Linked DNA regions of Homo sapiens: all the other regions are linked to region 5. The links are contacts of gene promoters, found by promoter capture Hi-C in human tissues and cell types (Jung and others, 2019). All regions are on one chromosome and are shown on one strand. Each heading gives the region's core, a stretch centred on a gene start or on the middle of the fragment in contact. The rest is flanking DNA. Distances are from core to core; before and after follow the strand shown. Region 1 overlaps KCNJ6 (potassium inwardly rectifying channel subfamily J member 6). Region 2 overlaps KCNJ6 (potassium inwardly rectifying channel subfamily J member 6). Region 3 overlaps KCNJ6 (potassium inwardly rectifying channel subfamily J member 6). Region 4 has its middle 97 kb from the start of DSCR4. Region 5 holds the start of KCNJ6 (potassium inwardly rectifying channel subfamily J member 6).

What was found. The method cuts DNA at HindIII sites, captures the fragments that hold promoters and counts their contacts. A contact is called where the count stands out against the background at its distance.
Region 1: a fragment that was not itself captured here is called in contact with the fragment with the promoter of KCNJ6 in region 5 in 5 of the 25 tissues and cell types used here (dorsolateral prefrontal cortex, heart right ventricle, mesenchymal stem cells and 2 more).
Region 2: a contact is called between a fragment that was not itself captured here and the fragment with the promoter of KCNJ6 in region 5, in 9 of the 25 tissues and cell types used here (H1 embryonic stem cells, IMR-90 fibroblasts, dorsolateral prefrontal cortex and 6 more).
Region 3: a contact is called between a fragment that was not itself captured here and the fragment with the promoter of KCNJ6 in region 5, in 2 of the 25 tissues and cell types used here (dorsolateral prefrontal cortex and mesenchymal stem cells).
Region 4: a fragment that was not itself captured here is called in contact with the fragment with the promoter of KCNJ6 in region 5 in 4 of the 25 tissues and cell types used here (bladder, heart right ventricle, mesendoderm cells and 1 more).

The regions. Positions count from the first base shown.
Region 1 is chr21:37,819,845-37,823,338 of GRCh38, forward strand. The region is part of intron 2 of KCNJ6 (potassium inwardly rectifying channel subfamily J member 6); the gene reads right to left. Among named protein-coding and RNA genes, the nearest start is that of KCNJ6, 95 kb to the right of the region's middle. The HindIII fragment of the contact is 9,746 bases long and covers 1-3,494 here.
Region 2 is chr21:37,803,348-37,806,736 of GRCh38, forward strand. The region is part of intron 2 of KCNJ6 (potassium inwardly rectifying channel subfamily J member 6); the gene reads right to left. Among named protein-coding and RNA genes, the nearest start is that of KCNJ6, 110 kb to the right of the region's middle. The HindIII fragment of the contact is 5,208 bases long and covers 1-3,389 here.
Region 3 is chr21:37,845,583-37,848,929 of GRCh38, forward strand. The region is part of intron 1 of KCNJ6 (potassium inwardly rectifying channel subfamily J member 6); the gene reads right to left. Among named protein-coding and RNA genes, the nearest start is that of KCNJ6, 69 kb to the right of the region's middle. The HindIII fragment of the contact is 4,909 bases long and covers 1-3,347 here.
Region 4 is chr21:38,022,701-38,026,305 of GRCh38, forward strand. No RefSeq gene overlaps it. Among named protein-coding and RNA genes, the nearest start is that of DSCR4, 97 kb to the right of the region's middle. The HindIII fragment of the contact is 3,153 bases long and covers 1-3,045 here.
Region 5 is chr21:37,914,371-37,917,806 of GRCh38, forward strand. KCNJ6 (potassium inwardly rectifying channel subfamily J member 6) reads right to left here and starts at 2,087. Exons shown (of 4, transcript NM_002240.5): 1 at 1,514-2,087. The HindIII fragment of the contact is 8,322 bases long and covers 305-3,436 here.

The sequences.
Region 1 (3,494 bases), core at 847-3,346, 95 kb before region 5:
ACAATTTTGGGTCATTGCAACCTCTGCCCCCTGTGTTCAAACTGATTCTCCTGCCTCAGCCTCCTGAGTAGATGGGATTACAGGCGCTCATCACCACACCTGGCTAATTTTTTTTGTATTTTTGGTAGAGTCGGGGTTTCACCATGTTGGTCAGGCTGGTCTCGAACTCCTGAGCTCAGGTGATCCACCCGCCTCAGCCTCCCAAAGTGCTGGGATTACAGATGTGAACCACTGTGCCTGGCCCACTCTTTTAAATTGGAAAGGAACTAAAAAGCTGTATGGAAAAGAAAACAAACTGCAACTAATTACACGGTTGTAACTCACAGAAAATGTAATCTGATTACATTTCTTTGTTTTCTTCCTATATAAGCAAGATCTTAACTTTTAACTTTGAAGCGCTGACCCATTTATGTGGAGTCTCTTTTCCGGATGGCTACTCCCAGCTTTTTGCTTGAATAAACTCTTTAAAACTGTATTCTGATTCTTTTTAATTGTTTCGGATTGATCTGTTGAAGTACATGTTCCTGCTCAAAGCTGGGTGTGCTGCAATTCAATTCTGACACTAACCACCTGGAGTTAGACTTCACAGATTAGGGACTCTGTCCTGGAAGCCACAGATTTACTATGGATTTGCTGTGTGTCTGCCATTTTGCACTGCATTTGGATGACACTGCTTCAGATGTCAGCAGCACATCGGGGATCCTAGGCTATCCTCACTTCTGACCTATGTTCTGATCAAACTTCCTGCTACGAATTCTGGGGTTCGTATGACCCATTCAGGTTCCATAATTTACTAGAATGACTAACAGAACTCAAGAAAGTGCCATGTCAATGTTATTAACCTTGTTCTTACTCCTCATCACTTTGGCAAACCCAAATATTCAGATAATTTGTTTCTTTTTGAAAGCTTATTATTATTTTATTTGCTTTTCTGAAGAGCTTAGGATATAAGAACTTAGGAGATACACTGACCAAAAACCATGAGGTATATGTTGGCAGCCCTTGAGGGATGTGCCTTGTTTTGACTAGTTGGATTTTCTTGTGAACAATGTCTTAAGTAGAAAATAACCCTCTGTGTTCAATATTATTTCTTGTTGAAAAACTTAAAAACGTTTTAGCTGGCTTTCCTGTCTTAAGAGAGTGTGACAGATACTAATCTTCTATTTAAAATGTTTCAGCTGGTTTTTCTATCTTAGGAGAGTGTGACAGATACTTATCTCCCATTAATGATGCTCATTCTTGCCATGTCTCCTCTTGCAAATATTATCACAACCACTGTTGCATGGTTTTGTGAAGGTGTGACTAAATTTGTTCTGACCCCAGTATAATAGCACATAATATGGAAAATAACTTTTTTATTTAGGTGAATTTCACATAACAAAAAATTGACAATTTTAACTTAAAGTAAACGTTACCTACATTGTTGCACAATGCTGTATAACCACTACCTCCATCTAGTTCCCATTTTCAACAACCCAAAAGGAAATCCTGTACTCACTTAGCAATTCTCTCCTTCAGAAGGCAATTTTTTTATTTCTTAATTTTTTAAAATTTAATTTTACATTCTAGGTTATCCATGAAGGACATGCAGGTTTGTTATATAGGTAAGCGTGTCATGGTGGTTTGCTGCACCTATCAACCCATCACCTAGGTATTAAGCCCCACATGCATTAGCTATTTATCCTGATGCTCTCCTTTCCCCTGCCCCCCCAACAGGCCCCAATGTGTGTTGTTTCCCTCCCTGTGTCCATGTGTTCCAGAAGGTAATTATTTTTAAATGAAATCTTTGTTATCAGTCGTCCACTTAACACCTACTTATGCCAACTGTGTTAGGGTACTTTATTTCTTTATCACTTTCTCATTTTTCCTAAATGTATTGTATATGGTTATAGGAAGACTTTAGTCTACTGGGTCTGGTTAATCAAATAGTAAATTCTACTCTATAAATAGAATCTATATCCTTTATTTTATCCAGAAAGAATGGCAGACACACAGCAAATCCTAGTAAATGCTGAATGACAGTTTTCCTGTAATGGTTTTGGATTAGAATTATATTGTCTAATGGTTGTATTATTTTAAAGATTTCTTTAGCAGGCATTAGTCATGACCAGCCAGAGACATGACTGCATATCTGAGTCAATGTGAAGATTCCACCAGAGGAGGATAATCAACACAGAGGAGCTGTCACACCTGTTTGTTAAAATAAGTATTTCTCACACTGCTTCAGGTGAGCCAGGTTGAACTGAACTGCAACCTGAAGCTACTATTCTCAGGTGAGCTAGCTTCCCAGAGTTGCTGTTTGGAGAGACAGATGTAATAACAATCTGGCTGCACGTGGAGGATGACAGGTCCCTTGTCATGCTAGGAGCTGGGGAGTGGCTTGCAGACACCATTTCACAATGAAGAGTGGGTCGTGGTTTGATAGGCACCTGTTGTCTATGGCCATACCACTCTGAACATGCCCAATCTCCTCTGATAGGCACCCATTCCTCGTGGATGGGGAAGGTGGGGGTGCTGCCAGGGCTGTGCCCAAGTGCCTGGTTCCATTTTTTCCCCCAACACCAGACAGCAGCCAATATCCCAGGACAGCTCTGGGGCTCCTACAAGCTGGGAGCTGTTCCTGAAAACCCACTCAGCTCTCTGCTCCTGAAGCCTCTGAATGGGTACGGGCTATTGTTTTATGCGGGAAATTATCTGTCAAAAGAAACGCCTTCTGTGTTCCTACTCAGCATTGAGAGGCATATTTTTGTTGAGAGGATGCTTTATATTGGGGTCTATGGCTTTGTTGGAGCCTGCTCACATAGACAAGTGAGTGGGAACTTCTCATAGACCTCTAATCTCTATGGATTCGATTTTGATTGTCTTTTGTGAGGATGTAAAACCCACTATTGGTCTCAGGTTCACTGAGGAAAAGAACCTATGGCTCTGTCAAGAAGCCATAGACTTAAATCACTTTTAATAAATATTTAGATTGGGTCTTATATGACAGCTCAGAATGTTTCAGTGGAATTGACACCAAAACGGGGGACTCGAGAGTGATGTCAGCAGGGGGTGGAATAAGACTTTTCAGTCCTCATTCCTTCATCGAAACATCACTTTGAACAACTTGTCATGCATGAAAATTCCTTCACAAGAGCTAAGGAAACCAGGCAAGAGACTATAGCACCAGGGGTTAGCACAGAAATAAGAAAGGACATGTTGAAGAGGGAGGGACAGATTCACATAACCTGTGTCACCCTCCCCTAAACCCGAGCAGCACAGCATGGAGAGAGATGGCAGGCAGGCCCCCAGCCCCAGTCTGCAGGCCAGCACCTGCCGAACCAGCCCCCACGGCCACCCCAACACCAGGCCAGAGCCCTCAGACTTAGGCTCTGGGCACACCTGAGGCTCCAGAAAAATGCTGCAATAAACATAGGATTTGGAAAAGAAGGAAATTCTGTCACTTGCAACAACATGGATGAACCTGGAGCACATTATGTGAAGTGAAATAAACC
Region 2 (3,389 bases), core at 762-3,261, 110 kb before region 5:
ATCTGCGTGATCTTGAAATGTACTTAGTAGAACAAGACATCAATCCACCACGGAAATAAGTCTGTGGTGATGCTGGGGCTGGAGTTGGGGCAGGAGATTCATGGTATATAGTGAGTCGGCCAGAATCATAATTAGAGCATTTATCATAATTCCTGACACTCTAATTGGCTTAAAAGTCTCTTCTTAGGACAGTGTTGGACAGTATTTCACCGTAGGAATTTGCTTTTCCAGGTGATTTTGTAGCAGACGTCACCACTGTCACTGACCATTATTCCCTCAAATTGGCAGAGAAGTGCCCTCCTCCCTGCCCCACTGGGGTCCATGGTGGGCACACACCAGCAGGCAAAACGATGAGGAAGTGCTGTCCTATTTGCTTCAAATTAAAATGAACACACGACACCTACCTTCCACATGAAGAAATAACACTATCTTCCCTACGTCTGTTTCTCTCTTGGCATGACTCCATCTGAGTTGGGCTCACCTTTTGACTGTGTCCTCACCATCTCACTCCTTCATGGGACCAGGGACACTGGATAGAGGGGAGGGCTCACAGAAGGGGCGTCCTTTTGGGGAAAGCTTTTGCTGATGTTGCCTGCCCTTCGCTTCTATCCAAGTCTCCCACTTTGAATTTTATTTCTGAGCTCAAAATCCCTGTGAGCAAAAATACTCTGCCCCCAGTTAAAAAAATGGGGAAAGGATTTTAATAGACATTTCTTCAAAGGAGATATTAAAATCTGCCATGAGCACCAGAAAAGATGCATCGTTAGTCACTAGGGAAGTGCAAATCAAAACCACTTTCACACCCACTAGGATGACTCTAATCAGAAAGACAGATAATAACAAGTGTTGACAAGGATGTGGGGAAATTGCAACACTCATTGTTTGTAGGATTGTAAAATGGTGCAGCTTCTGTGGAAAACAGGTTGGCAGTTCCTCAAAAGGTTAAACATTGAATTACCACATGACCCAGCAGTTCCACTCCTAGGTGCATACCCCCCAAAATTAAAAACCTATGTCCACACAAAAATTACTATGTGGATATTCATAGCACTACTATTCTTTTTTAATTTTTATTTTATTTAACTTTATTTTAATTTCAGGGGTACGTGTGCAGGTTTTTTATACAGGTAAACTTGTGTCATGGGGGTTTGTTGTACAGATTATTTCATCACTCAGGTATTAAGCCTAGTACCCATTAGTTATTTTTCCTGATCTTCTCCCTCCTCCCATCCTCCACCCTCTAATAGGCTCCAGTAGAGGTTGTTCCCCTCTGTGTGTCCATGTATTATCATTTAGCTCCCCCTTATAAGTGAGAACATGCGGTATTTGGTTTTCTGTTCCTGCATTAGCTTGGTAAGGATAATGGCCTACAGCTCCATCCATGTTCCTGCAAAGGATATGGTCTCATTATTTTTTATGGCTTTATAGTATTCCATGGTGTATATGTACCACATTTTCTTTACCCAGTCTATCATTGATGGGCATTGTTGAGTCTATGTCTTTACTATAGTGAGTAGGCACTACTATTCACAACAGCCAAAAAAGTGGAAACAACCAAACTGATGAATGGATAATTATGATGTGGTACAATGGAATATTATTTAGCTATAAAAAGGAATGAACATGGATGAACCTTGATAACATTATGCTAAATAAAAGAAACTAGACACAACAGACCATCTATTGTGCAAGTCTATTTATATGAAATATTCACAACAGGAAATCCATAGAGACAGAAAAGAGATAAGGGATTGCCAGGAAAGGGGGCAGGTGGAATGACTGCTAATAAAGACAGAGTTTCTTTTTGGGGTGATAGAAATGTTCTGGCATTAGATTGTGGTGATGGTTGCATGAATTTGTGAAGACACCAAAACACACTGAATTGTATACTTTACAAGTGTGAATTTTGCGATATGTGAATTATATTTCAATGAAAATAATTGTATGAGAAAAATATCACTTCTGGGGAGTGATACTGGGGTTCCAAGGTGGTCCTGTCTTCTGCTTGAATCTTAAATTGTATTATTTTAGTAAAGATGATGATAAAAATAAAAAAAATACGCTCTGTCAATCTGAGCTGCCTCTTCCTTCCCCATTTGGCGTTTGGTGTTATCACTTCCTGAGCAGCTGGGACAAGGGTCTCTTGCTACCCTTTGCATCCTGAATTTTATTTCTTTGCTCTCTGAGCCTGCCTTTCTGGCCATGAGCCCCCTGAAGTCCCTGCTGTGTTCCCTTCTTGTTTATTGATTTGTGTTACCAAAAGGATGTGACTTTATTTGAAATAAGGCATTTGCAGAAGTGATCAAATTAAGATGAGTTCGGACTAGATTAAGGAGTGTCTTAATCCAATGACTGGTGTACTTATGAGAAGAGGTAAATTTGGACACAGAGAAAGGCACAGAGGGATGATAATGTGAAGACACACAGGCAGATGTGTGGTGTGTGATGACAGTGGCAGAGCTGCAGTGATGCGTCTGCAAGCCAAGGAATGCCAAGGATCTCTGTCAACCACGAGGAGTCGGAAGAGGCCAGGAAGGACACTCCCCTAGAGCCTTCAGCGACAGCATGACCCTGTTGACATCTGAATTACAAACTTCTGGCCTCCAGACCTGCAAGTGAATAAATTTCTGTTGTTTTAAGTGCCCACTTTGTGATAGTTTGTTGCAGTCACCCTAGGAAACTAATATAGCGTTCTAACATGAAATCTGGCACACGGAAGCCCAAACATGTTTGTTGAGTGAATTACTCTTCTGCTTCTATGTGATCTGTGATGGCTGACATGGAAAGAAGCCCCAGCAACTGGCTGATAAAAAATGGAATAGTTAGTTCCTGCTTTTACAAGTGAGAACTTCAGCAAGAGATGAAGTTGTTTACCCCAGGTAGATAGCGGATGGGGACTGAGGATTTACTTCAGATATTTCAACTCTGAGTTAATGAAAGGAGATAGGAAAGAGAAATGAGCCTCTTCGAGAGCCTACTATGAGTCAGGCACTGTGTATGTGGTATAATTTATTTCTCTCAAGGACCCTATGTTATGAGCATTCTTATCCACATTTCTGCAAAATAGACAATTGGCATGAAAACAGAGATGGGCCTCTGGACCTTGGATGTCCAAGGTCACGTAGTAAATAGCAAAGCCAGAATTCCCCCCTCCCCGGGTCTTTATGATTGTAAGGTCTTCCTCCCCTTGATCATGCTGAGGAGATTTATTGATCAGACAGCTTTCAAATATCAGGAGGACGTTTCAAGTTTATTTGGCAAGTGATCAGGATCTACTTACCTTACAAACTCAAGTTGTGAATGAAAAATTCATTATCTCCATTTTCTAGTCATTAACTATACAATCCTGATCTAAATTCACAAATATAAACATTTTCTGTGATCAATAG
Region 3 (3,347 bases), core at 144-2,643, 69 kb before region 5:
GACAATGTATATAAATACAGTCAAGTGTAATGTCCATGTGTGGGTTTGTAATCATTATTCCGTTTGGCTACTGTGTGGGGACCCAGAGTTAGAACCTGTTCTTGCTATTTGAGGACAAATATTGACCTCTAGCATTTGTGCCAAAAATAACAAAGCAAATTTCCCTGAAATTAGCCAGACCCATGGCTGCCAGCCCCTCAGGGAACTACTCGTCAACAGCTGGTGACTATGCAACCCACACCTGTATTTCCACACCCCTGCTCCAGAATATAAGGTCTGCAGAACCTAGGCACACTGCTTGGAAGAGCTATGCTATTTTGCTCTAGGAGGCACTCCACTTAAAGTCGTATTGTTGTACATTTAATAAAAGGCATTCATAGACACATCAAACGTTTGGGGTAATCATGATGATATATTTGAGTAAAACATGTTCACAGATGCTGAAAAAAAAACAACGTTAAGTGTCTTGTTTAAATCATAAACTCCTCGGGTAGAGCATTGACTTTCAGGGGCAATGGGCATTTAATTTTCTGTCTGAACTTTATTCCCTCTTCCACACCTGGGGAAGTAAATAAAGGCTCAGCAACTTGCTTGTGGGGGTGTGTGTGTAATTTATACTCCCACATCTGTTTCAGCTAAAGAGAGTATGGCTTTCTACTGAGTCCATGCCAGCTACATACTTCTCTTTGAGTGTCTAAAATGACAGAGGTGTTTTTAATGAGGGCAATTATAACAGTCTGACTTTAGCTCAGAGCTAAGGCTGAGACACTCTGTGTGTGTGTGTGTGTGTGTGTGTGTGTGTGTGTGTGTGTGTGTGTGTGTGAGGGAGAGAGGAGGATGGGGAAGAGGAGATTGATTCATGAATGCAGAGTATCTAGAAAGGGTAGAAAGGGTTTTTTTCTGCTGCATGGGGCTCCCTCAGACAGAGGACAGGAGCTGGCAGAACCCAGTGAGGTCTGCATTTTCGGTGGTGCTGCCTTGCTTTCTGCTACCCAGAAGTAGGCTTTTAAGGATGAGGGGGAAACTCATCATGGTTGATATATTTCAAACCGGTTATATTTGCATCTCAGATATTTTTATCTCTCTAAAATGTGTGCTTGTATTCATCAGAAAACTGTGATTTTTTTCCCAAAATACAACCATTTAAAGAAACATTTATGCAAAGTAGGAAACGATAAAGCCATTTTATGAACTTAGTATCCTCAACAGGGCCTCACCTCTGGTTAAACCAGGAGCCCTCAAATCTCCCGCCCTGTTCTTCAGGTTCTCAACAAATGCACCAGCCCTGGCCCCTCCTCACCTTCCCCCCTCCTCTTCCCTGACACGGTGCCATGGCAGGTCACCTGAGGACTGATTTAAATGGAAAATGCCACATCCTCAGATAGCCAAGCAAGTGAGTGTTCTCTTAGTACAGCATCATTTATGTTGCCTTGAGTTGCTGCCGAAAAATATAGGCCACAGCATTTAAGAATCACTAATTAGTTTTTTGCCTAATGAAAAACAAATGGAAATGAGTAGTCGGTATGCAAGTATGGTTTGGGGCAATATAAATATAAAATACATAAAAATATAATATGAAAATATATAAAAATAGTAACTCCTAATGTTTACTTCACATTTATTATAGCCTGTCACTGCATTAGTACATTAGACTATCTCCTTAATTCTCACAAGGACCCTGTGAAATGGTACTGTCTTCTCTACTTTGAGGATGGGGAAACTGAGGCACAGAGAGGTTCAGCAGATCATGCCAGATCACACGGCTGGTGAGGAGTAGAGTTGAGCATGAAACCCAACAAGTCTTCTTTCTGCACCTGCACTCTCTCAGCCACGGTGCCACCTGCAACCCTAGGAACTGGTGAGAAGTCCTAGAAATGAAGGCCGTTCATGCTGAAGGCAGCAGTGAGAATCCAGGTCTAAGATCCTTCTTCAATCATCCGATGCTGAAAATTTATTGATGTGCACAAGATGGACACTGGATAGAAGAGGACATCCAGGTAAAGCCAGCTTTACACCTGCCTTCAGAGAGCTTCCAGTTTGGTCCAGAAGGCAAGATGTGTAGAGAAATAGCTGCAATATGTGGTATCAAGGGTAAAACACCAGAAGGGTTCTACAGGACATCGATAGAAAGAGGAACAGAGGGAGCAAAGAGAAAGGGAGAGACAGAGAGAGAGAGGGAGAGAGAGAGGAGAGAAGGGAGGGGGAGAAGGAGGGGGAGAAACAGAATAGAGACAGAGAATGAGACTGGAGAAAATGTAGTTCTAACTCACAGAACCAGGGTGTGCCTCACGGAGGAAGCAGCTTCAAGGTGTGAAGGAGGGGAAGAAGAGTGATGGGAGAGGGGAGGGCAAGGAAGAATACTCCAGATGGAGAAATGGCATGAGGAAAGGTGGGGAAGCTTGGTGCGTGAGGAGCAGCAGGTCACAGGGGGACCAAGGCTTGGTGTGAGAAGAAGAGCAGGAGGCTGGCATGGACAATGAGGACATAAGCCCTGGAGGTCCCTGGAGGCCAGACAGCTGCTCAGGAGGGAGGCCAGGGCTGGAGTTGTGGCAAACCAGTGGGAGGAGGAAGGTGCCTGTGTGAAGACCGTGGCAACCCACGCTGGTGAGCCAAGGAAGATGGTGGGAGATGTGGAGGCAAAACCCAATGAGTGTGCTCTCCTGTGAGCCCGGGGACTAGCAGATTTGAAGAGTAAAGAACTTGCCTATCAGGATGGGGTACCATTTTTTTAGAGTAAAGTTAGTTTTCACCACTGATATACTCAGTTAAAGTTTCTAAAATAATCTGAAATTTTCACAATTTGGGGTAAAAACATCTGTGGGGTGTGCTCGAAGGAGGTGACATTTTTGCTAGGCAGGCCATGTAGGATGCTTTAGGTGAGAAAGCCCTCTTTGCAATAAGGCTCAGAGCCTTAGCCTCACCAGATAGCCTTTCTAAGGTCCCTATGTACAGGTCACCCTGACTGGTTCCTTATGCTGCCACCATTGTGGTCTTGTTGACCAGACCAGGGAGGGTCCTAATACACTGAGTTATGAGGATATCTCACAAAGATAAATCAGATTCAAAGTTAAGTTTGTACTAACATTGCCTCAATTCCTTTGGGCTTCAGCGTGAGTTCGTAGATGGCAGGAGAGTATTTGGAGCATTGCTCTGGGTACTTTCTTGAAAGCATGTTGAGCACGTGACCTTCTAAGAGTGATGGGTAGCAGAGATAAGAGTAAGAAAACAGTTGGACCACATGGCTGCCAGAGTTTCTCCAAACCCAGCTGTGTGTGTGTCCTCCCTGGCTTGAAATACTGTGGGACAAGCTCTTGACTTTCAGCGTCAATATCCAGACAATGTTTCAC
Region 4 (3,605 bases), core at 219-2,718, 110 kb after region 5:
ATTGTGCACTTGGAAATGGTTAACACTGTAAATTATGTTATGTACGTTTTACTAAATAAAAAAGAAATAAGACGGGCTGGGCGCGATGGCTCACGCCTGTAATCCCAGCACTTTGGGAGGCTGATGTGGGTGGATCATGAGGTCAGGAGATCAAGACCATCCTGGCTAACATAGTGAAACCCTGTCTCTACTAAAAGTACAAAAAATTAGTTGGGCGTGGTGGCATGCACTTATAGTCCCAGCTACTCAGGAGGCTGAAGCAGGAGAATCACTTGAACCCAGGAGGCGGAGGTTGCAGTGAGCCAAGATTGTGCCACTGCACTCCAGCCTGGGTGACAGAGCGAGACTCCGTCTCAACAAAAAAAAAAAAAAAGAAAGGAAGAAAGAAAGAAATAAGACAAATGTAAACAAAACAAGAAAAACACTGACCTGCTACACTGGGGTTCTTTGATAGAAAAGTCTGAAAATATGAGATGTTACAAGTGGATGGCTTCCTAATTCCAAGTAGAAACACTCAGATGTGTACCGTGGAAGTCAGAAAGTCAATGAGATAAACAGACTTCACAAACAAGTTTAAAAAGAGTTGGTGGCGTGAATGTCACTGGCGAAGATTTTACAACTAGCAGTCTTCGTCTGTCGCCTGGCTTTCACAGAACTTAAAAAAAGCCTCATAATTTAAGTTTGACTTGTCTCTTCGATCACTGTTACCGTGTTCTTTATAGTAAATGTAGTCAGGATTCTTTTGTACCCTAACTAGGGCAAGTTTGTTTTTGGAATAAATGCAGCCCTCAAAATACAGAAGAACTCTGTTCCAGAAAAATTTATTTCTAGGTCAGTTGAATACAAGTTTGAACTCATTTGTAGTTGAAAACAACGCTAGAAATAGTCTTTAAGTTATTAGATGTGTACACAAATCTTACAACATAAAAGTGCTTAAGATGAATTTCACTCACAGCCAGTGACCACTTCTAACAGCAGAACTTTTTGCAGTTCGGAGAAGGAGACCTGAGACACATTTACCCTTCCTCAACCACCCAGAGGGGATTGTTTGTTAGGAGGCTGCCAAGGTATAGCCCAGGGGGTTGGAGATGACCTGATGTCATGCTGCCTCCAGCACAGTTGGATTTTGGTCCTTGGCTTTTCCCTAGTGTCATTAAACACATCCCCTAAGAAAAATGCTCACTCTTTGGCCTTTGGTCATCACTGATGAGTTCTAGATCTCTCTATCAGAAGTCTACAGGCATCATAATTAGCTAGAAAGGGTTCTAAGCCTAAGACTCCTCCCTCTTTCTAGGATTCTGTTCAATGCAGTGTAGCCATGAAGATTCTCTCTTTCAAAAGAGACCTCACTATTCTGTCAATGGCTGGGCAAGTGCCCAAAGCCTACCCAAATGGAAGGCTTCTGAGAAGCCTGGGTGGAGAACACAGATTTGCCCAGTGCTCAGAGCTTCTGTGGGAGGCTGAATAATGCCTCCCCGAAGATAGCCATGTCCTAATCCCTGAAATCTGTGAATGTTACCTTGTGGCATAAAAAAAGGATCTTTACAGATGTAATTAAGAATCTTGAGATGGGCAGAGTCTCCTGGATGACCAAGTGAGTCCTAGTCCTAAGTACAATCACATGTACTCTTTGTAACAGGGAGGCAGAGGGAGATTTGGTAACACTCAGAGGAGAAGGTGACTTGAAGGGAGAGCAAAGAGAGGTTGGAAGACTCTGGCCTTGAAGACAAGAGATTAGAAGATAGCATCCCCACAAGTCAAGGGATGATGGCAGCCACCAAAGGGTTTCCTGTTGACACCTCGATTATAGTCCAGTGATTCTAATTTCTGGCCTCCAGAACTGTGGGAGAATGAACTGCGATTGCCTGAAGGCAGCAAGTTTGTGGTCATTTGTTATAGCAGCCACAGGACATGAATACAGCCCCCATCTGCCACCTGCATCCATCCTTGGCACTCTGGTGCATGTGCTCCGAGCCAAGTATTACCCACGTGGCTGGCTGCAAGGAGACAGAAAGCAAGGACAGGCTGTGATACCTGAGCAGGAAGAAGGACAACAGGGAAACAGAAGACCTATTGCACTGATGAGAAGGAGAAGGGAGAGACCTGCCTTTACAGCACAATGTATTAAAATATGACACCATGAATTCCAGGTTTCCACACCGTCTCCCTTCAGGGAGAAGGAGCAGAATAGTAACAAGGAATTGAAATCTTGTGTACCAGACGATCCCATCACTGCCTTTACCACCTCCCATGGACACATTATGGACAAAGGGAGCTTGGGGCACAAATAGTCCTCCTTTCTCAAGCTTTATCTTGTCCTAAATTGATCTCATTATCTCCCTTGTTCTGTCTCTACCCCTCTCAACTTATGCTGCCTTCCGTGCCCCCACTTTAGTTTATAGCATCATCATCATCTGCCCTATATGTACCCAAGAGAAGTGGGACCACCCTGACTCCCCTTTTTTCCATCCTGCCCCATATCTCATTAGAAATGTAAGCCCTTTGTATTATCCACTGAACATATTTCATTGATAATTTTTCCTTTTTCATTCTCATTGTCAGTCCCTAATTGAAGTCCTCTTTCACAGGAGCTTCACCATATCCCAGTCCGATCCCACTACTTCCCTGATGGAAACCCTTCAGTGGGCTCCTGGCATGTTTCCCAGAAGGTCCCAGATCTCTGGCATCACTCTCTGTGGTTTGAACTTGCTTTCTTTCAAGATTCACCTGTAATTTTATTCTGCTTTTCACTATAAACTGTAGACTATAGTTACACTTAAGATGTTACCATTTCCTGACCATGCCACGCGATTTCATGACACCAAGTCTATTCTCCTTGGCATAATGTACCATGGCTTCCCCAGCAGAACTGGGGGCAATGAAGGAATGAAGCCCTACATCAGTGCTTTCCTTTAAGACTGCAGGGAAGAAACATGGAGAACAGGCATCCAAAAGGGCAGGTCACCCCGGTGGCCATACGTTGCCCTCAGTAACTTCAGCCCCAGAGTCCCCAGCAAGTCTCAAAATCAACACATTTGGCCGGGCGCGGTGGCTCACGCCTGTAATCCCAGCACTTTGGGAGGCCGAGGTGGGCGGATCACGAGGTCAGGAGATCGAGACCATCCTGGCTAACACGGTGAAACCCCGTCTCTACTAAAAATACAAAAAATTAGCCAGGCGAGGTGGCGGGAGCCTGTAGTCCCAGCTACTCGGGAGGCTGAGGCAGGAGAATGGCGTGAACCCAGGAGGCGGAGCTTGCAGTGAGCCGAGATTGCGCCACTGCACTCCAGCCTGGGCGACAGCGAGACTCCGTCTCAAAAAAAAAAAAAAAAAAAAAAAAAAAAAAAAAATCAACACATTTGCTCCAAGAGGCTCCAGGTGATGGCTTAAACATCTGATTCACCTTATCTTTTTCTTCCAGAATGTATACATTCATCCCTTGTTTAAAGAAGTTTGGTTTACTTTTTTTCTTTAATCTACCTGAGTTTAGAAGATGCCAGTCTTTGCATTTAGTAATTGTTTTGCAGCAAGTTAAAGAAAGCAACACTTCCACTCCAAGTCTATACCACCACCTCCTTGTGCTCCTCTTCCCTGAGTGTGAGTTT
Region 5 (3,436 bases), core at 837-3,336:
GGTGCTGAATCCGGAACCCGCTGAGGAACCACCACCTCGGCGGCCCCCAGGCAACTTTCGGGAGGTTTCAGGGGCACCCGGCCAGCTCTGGGCGCCCTCTCGAGCGTCGCCGTCAGGGAGTTGGGCACAACCGATGCCCTGGGACCCGCCACAGGGCACGCGGCTGGCGTATTCCTTTGCCTGGAGCCGGGAAAGTTTTGTCCAATTTTTTTCCCCTATAACTGGAGCTGCGGTCTCCCCTCCCACCTGGGTCGCCATGGAGACTCGAGCTCTTTTTCTTTCTCCAGGCAAAATGGGCGAAGCTCAGTTAGCTCAGCCCTGACTGTAGCAAGCCCTTTTTTCTCCCTAAGCAGTTCCTGGGCATCACCCTTTTCCGTTTCTTTTTTTCAGCAAAAGAAAGGCAGGCAGGGAACAGGGCTAGCAGGATGTGGCATTGCTCCCTGTACCGTAGGGCTCCCCGGGACCGACAGACTTTGGATAACAGCAGTTGGGAAACACTCTAAACATATAATACATCTCCAACTCCCAAACACTGGAGTTGTGGGGTTTTTTTTTTTTTCTCTTCCTTTTTTTGGGGGTTGGAGGCGGAATTCTTTGGAAAATTCTGGTATTTTGTTTCTCCACTAACCTCACCCTCTGTGGCTGTTTCTATTAAGATATATTTTCCCCCTGACAATCTCTCCATATTGCACCTAGTACAACAGATGTACCTGTGGATCCACTGGGCTTTTATTGGGTTTTGGGAATACTGATGTTATTTCACTTAAAAACTAATCCAAGCTTAATGTTTTGATGAAAATGAAAATATATCCACAGGGAAGCAAATATCCACAGCCACCCAGTCCTCTAAATGCCACACACATCTCATTTTATCTAAAGTGTTTTTTCTTCCCTTCCAATTACAAAATAATTCAGTTTACTCCTAGGAAGATCTTCCTATTCACTGTTTTTAGTCATGCTAGCACATCTTCGGTTTTAAGGATAGAGAACAGTTAGGAGTTACAGTATTCTGTTTCCCATTCTCCGCATGTTTCTCCCCAACCCTCACTTTTCCTCCCTTTCGTGTTGTCTCCTCTCCTCTCCATGCAAAGCAGAACAAGAAGACTGCCTTCCACAAAGACAATAGGCTTTTCCCAACTGTAAATGACTACATCACAAGCCGCACCTGTCAGTTAATCAGTGCATTTAAGTCTTTGCCAGCGGATGTTGAAATGATGTCTGCAATAACTGACTGGGTTTCTGCGAGCCCAGGGATGCAGACCCCTCCTTCCCCCGCCCCCCGTGCGAGTTTCAGTCGCTAATGAAAACCGTATGAAACAGATTCCCCTTCTGTTATGTAACCGGCTTCTCCCTCGCCTTTCGGCTGACTTGGGCACAATGTTTCTCATGAGAGTGGAGATGCCTGCGGCGACGGCGGAGCTGGGGAAGGGGACGCGGGGACCCGAGAGCACGGAACGCCTCGCCCAGGTGGACGCCAGCTCCTCGCCTGCGAGCAGCTCAGCGCACCGCTTACCTGGCTGCGGACGGGGTGGCTTCACTCAATCATGATCTCCTCTCTTGAAACGGAGCAAGACTGAACAATTCACTACACGACGGATGGCGAGGGAAGGAAATGCAAAAAAGAAAAGGAAAAGAAAAAAACTGGAATCAGATGGTCAAATTTCACATCAGCACCGAGAGGCTGTTAGGAGACTCCATTCTGCTCGCGGCTGCTCCGGCTCCAGGTCCGGCTTCCCGGCGTCCGCGGGTCTCCACCCCTCCGCCCGCCCAGCCTCTCCAGCCAGGTGCGGCCGTCTCCGGACTGGCTCCCTCTGGCCGAGCGCGGAGAGCAGGGCTGGGCGCTGGGGCCAAGGGAGGGGCGGAGGGGCGCGCGTTTGGGCAGGGACGGGGGAGGGAGACTGGGTGGAATGAAGTGGGGAAAGATAAGAGTGGCAGAAGAAAAAAAAAATCCCCGGTTAGGAGAAAAGTGGTGGACCACGCAGAGAGACGTCATGAAATCCGCAGATTCAATGAATGCTACTCAATTCCAGCCGACTGGCTGAGCCCCGCTGGCAGCGCACGAAGCGACGCGGCTCCGAGATAAAAGCGAGTGCAGCGCCGCGTGCTGGGGAAAAAGCCGCACAGCGCCGGCGCGGTCCGGGAGGAAGGGGCGGGGGCGAGCAGGACAGAGCCACAGACCCAGAGACGCCCACCCCGCCGCCCATGCCAGCTAGCGTGTCAGCGCGTCGAGGACCGGGCTTGGTGGGGGCGGGCTGGGCACAAACCAACGTGCATCCCCCGCCACTGGAAACGTGGGTGCTCCATGCTGGGGGAATCTTTTGGGTTTCGGTCCCCGACCCCCCAGTCCCAACCTTTCTCCCAGTGCCACTAAGTAAGTTATTCCCGGAGAAACGCCTGGAAAGCAGGAAAGAGCCGAAGCTCGGGGAGCAGTTTTGTCTGCTGGTTGTAGGGGTTCGGCTTTTAGGGTTTTGTGAGATAAGGAAAAAGAGGCTCTGGGCACTGCCTCCCACCGGGCTGAAATCCGTGAGAGGCAGCCCCGGCGCGGGAGCCGGAGCCTGCACCGCCCAGAGGGGGCGCAGCGAGCGGCCGGGACGGAGGGGAGGGGCCCTATCCCTGAGCTTTGCTTGCACCTGGTGGCGCCCCAGCCTGCTGCCCCATTCAGTCCCTTCTGTCCTGTCCACTGCAACTGGGACCTGGTCCCGGCTGCTGCATCATCACCCCATCCTTATATGATGTCTCTGGGGTCACTGGAGACAAAGAATGGCCTTTTCCAAGAATGACCCAGGCTGCCTTCAAAGTTGAATTTGTCAGGATAAGCCCCTTAGACAAAGGTCTACTCCACTCTTTGAATCTAACTTGCTTTGTGCTGTTATTCCAGGGGCCCCTCATAGTGCTCCCCTCTTGCACCCCCTCTTTTTCTTATGGTCATCAAAAACAATGGTTCTACATTTCCAAAGTCTTCCCATAAATTGCTTCTACCTATGAACAGAACTCTCTTTTATGCTGTCTTTTTCCTAGGGATGAATGGATTGACAAATTGTAAGAGTAGCGAATACCATTGGCTAGTAATTTTATAATGGCCCTTTCAATAACTGGCTATTCTTGTGCTGCTTTATGAAGTGGCTTTCCTTCCACAAGGCACAGAATCTCTACCTCAAAGAAGGTGACCTTATTTTAGAGAGAAGGCTTACGGAAACCTCTTATTTCCAAGATTATTTTATTCTACATACATACATTTTAATTACCTAGCAATTCAGGTCCCCTCAAGAATGCTGTCTGCCCTCTAAAAATGACTGTAATATGGAGAGGTGTTTGTGTCAATTTGCATCCAAAGTCATGTAAAAGTCAACCGTACACACGGCCTGTGAGCTTGTATTTGCTGTTGATTTTCCCTAAGAGGTTGTAATCTGACTTGCTATTACTTCTGAGTCATATA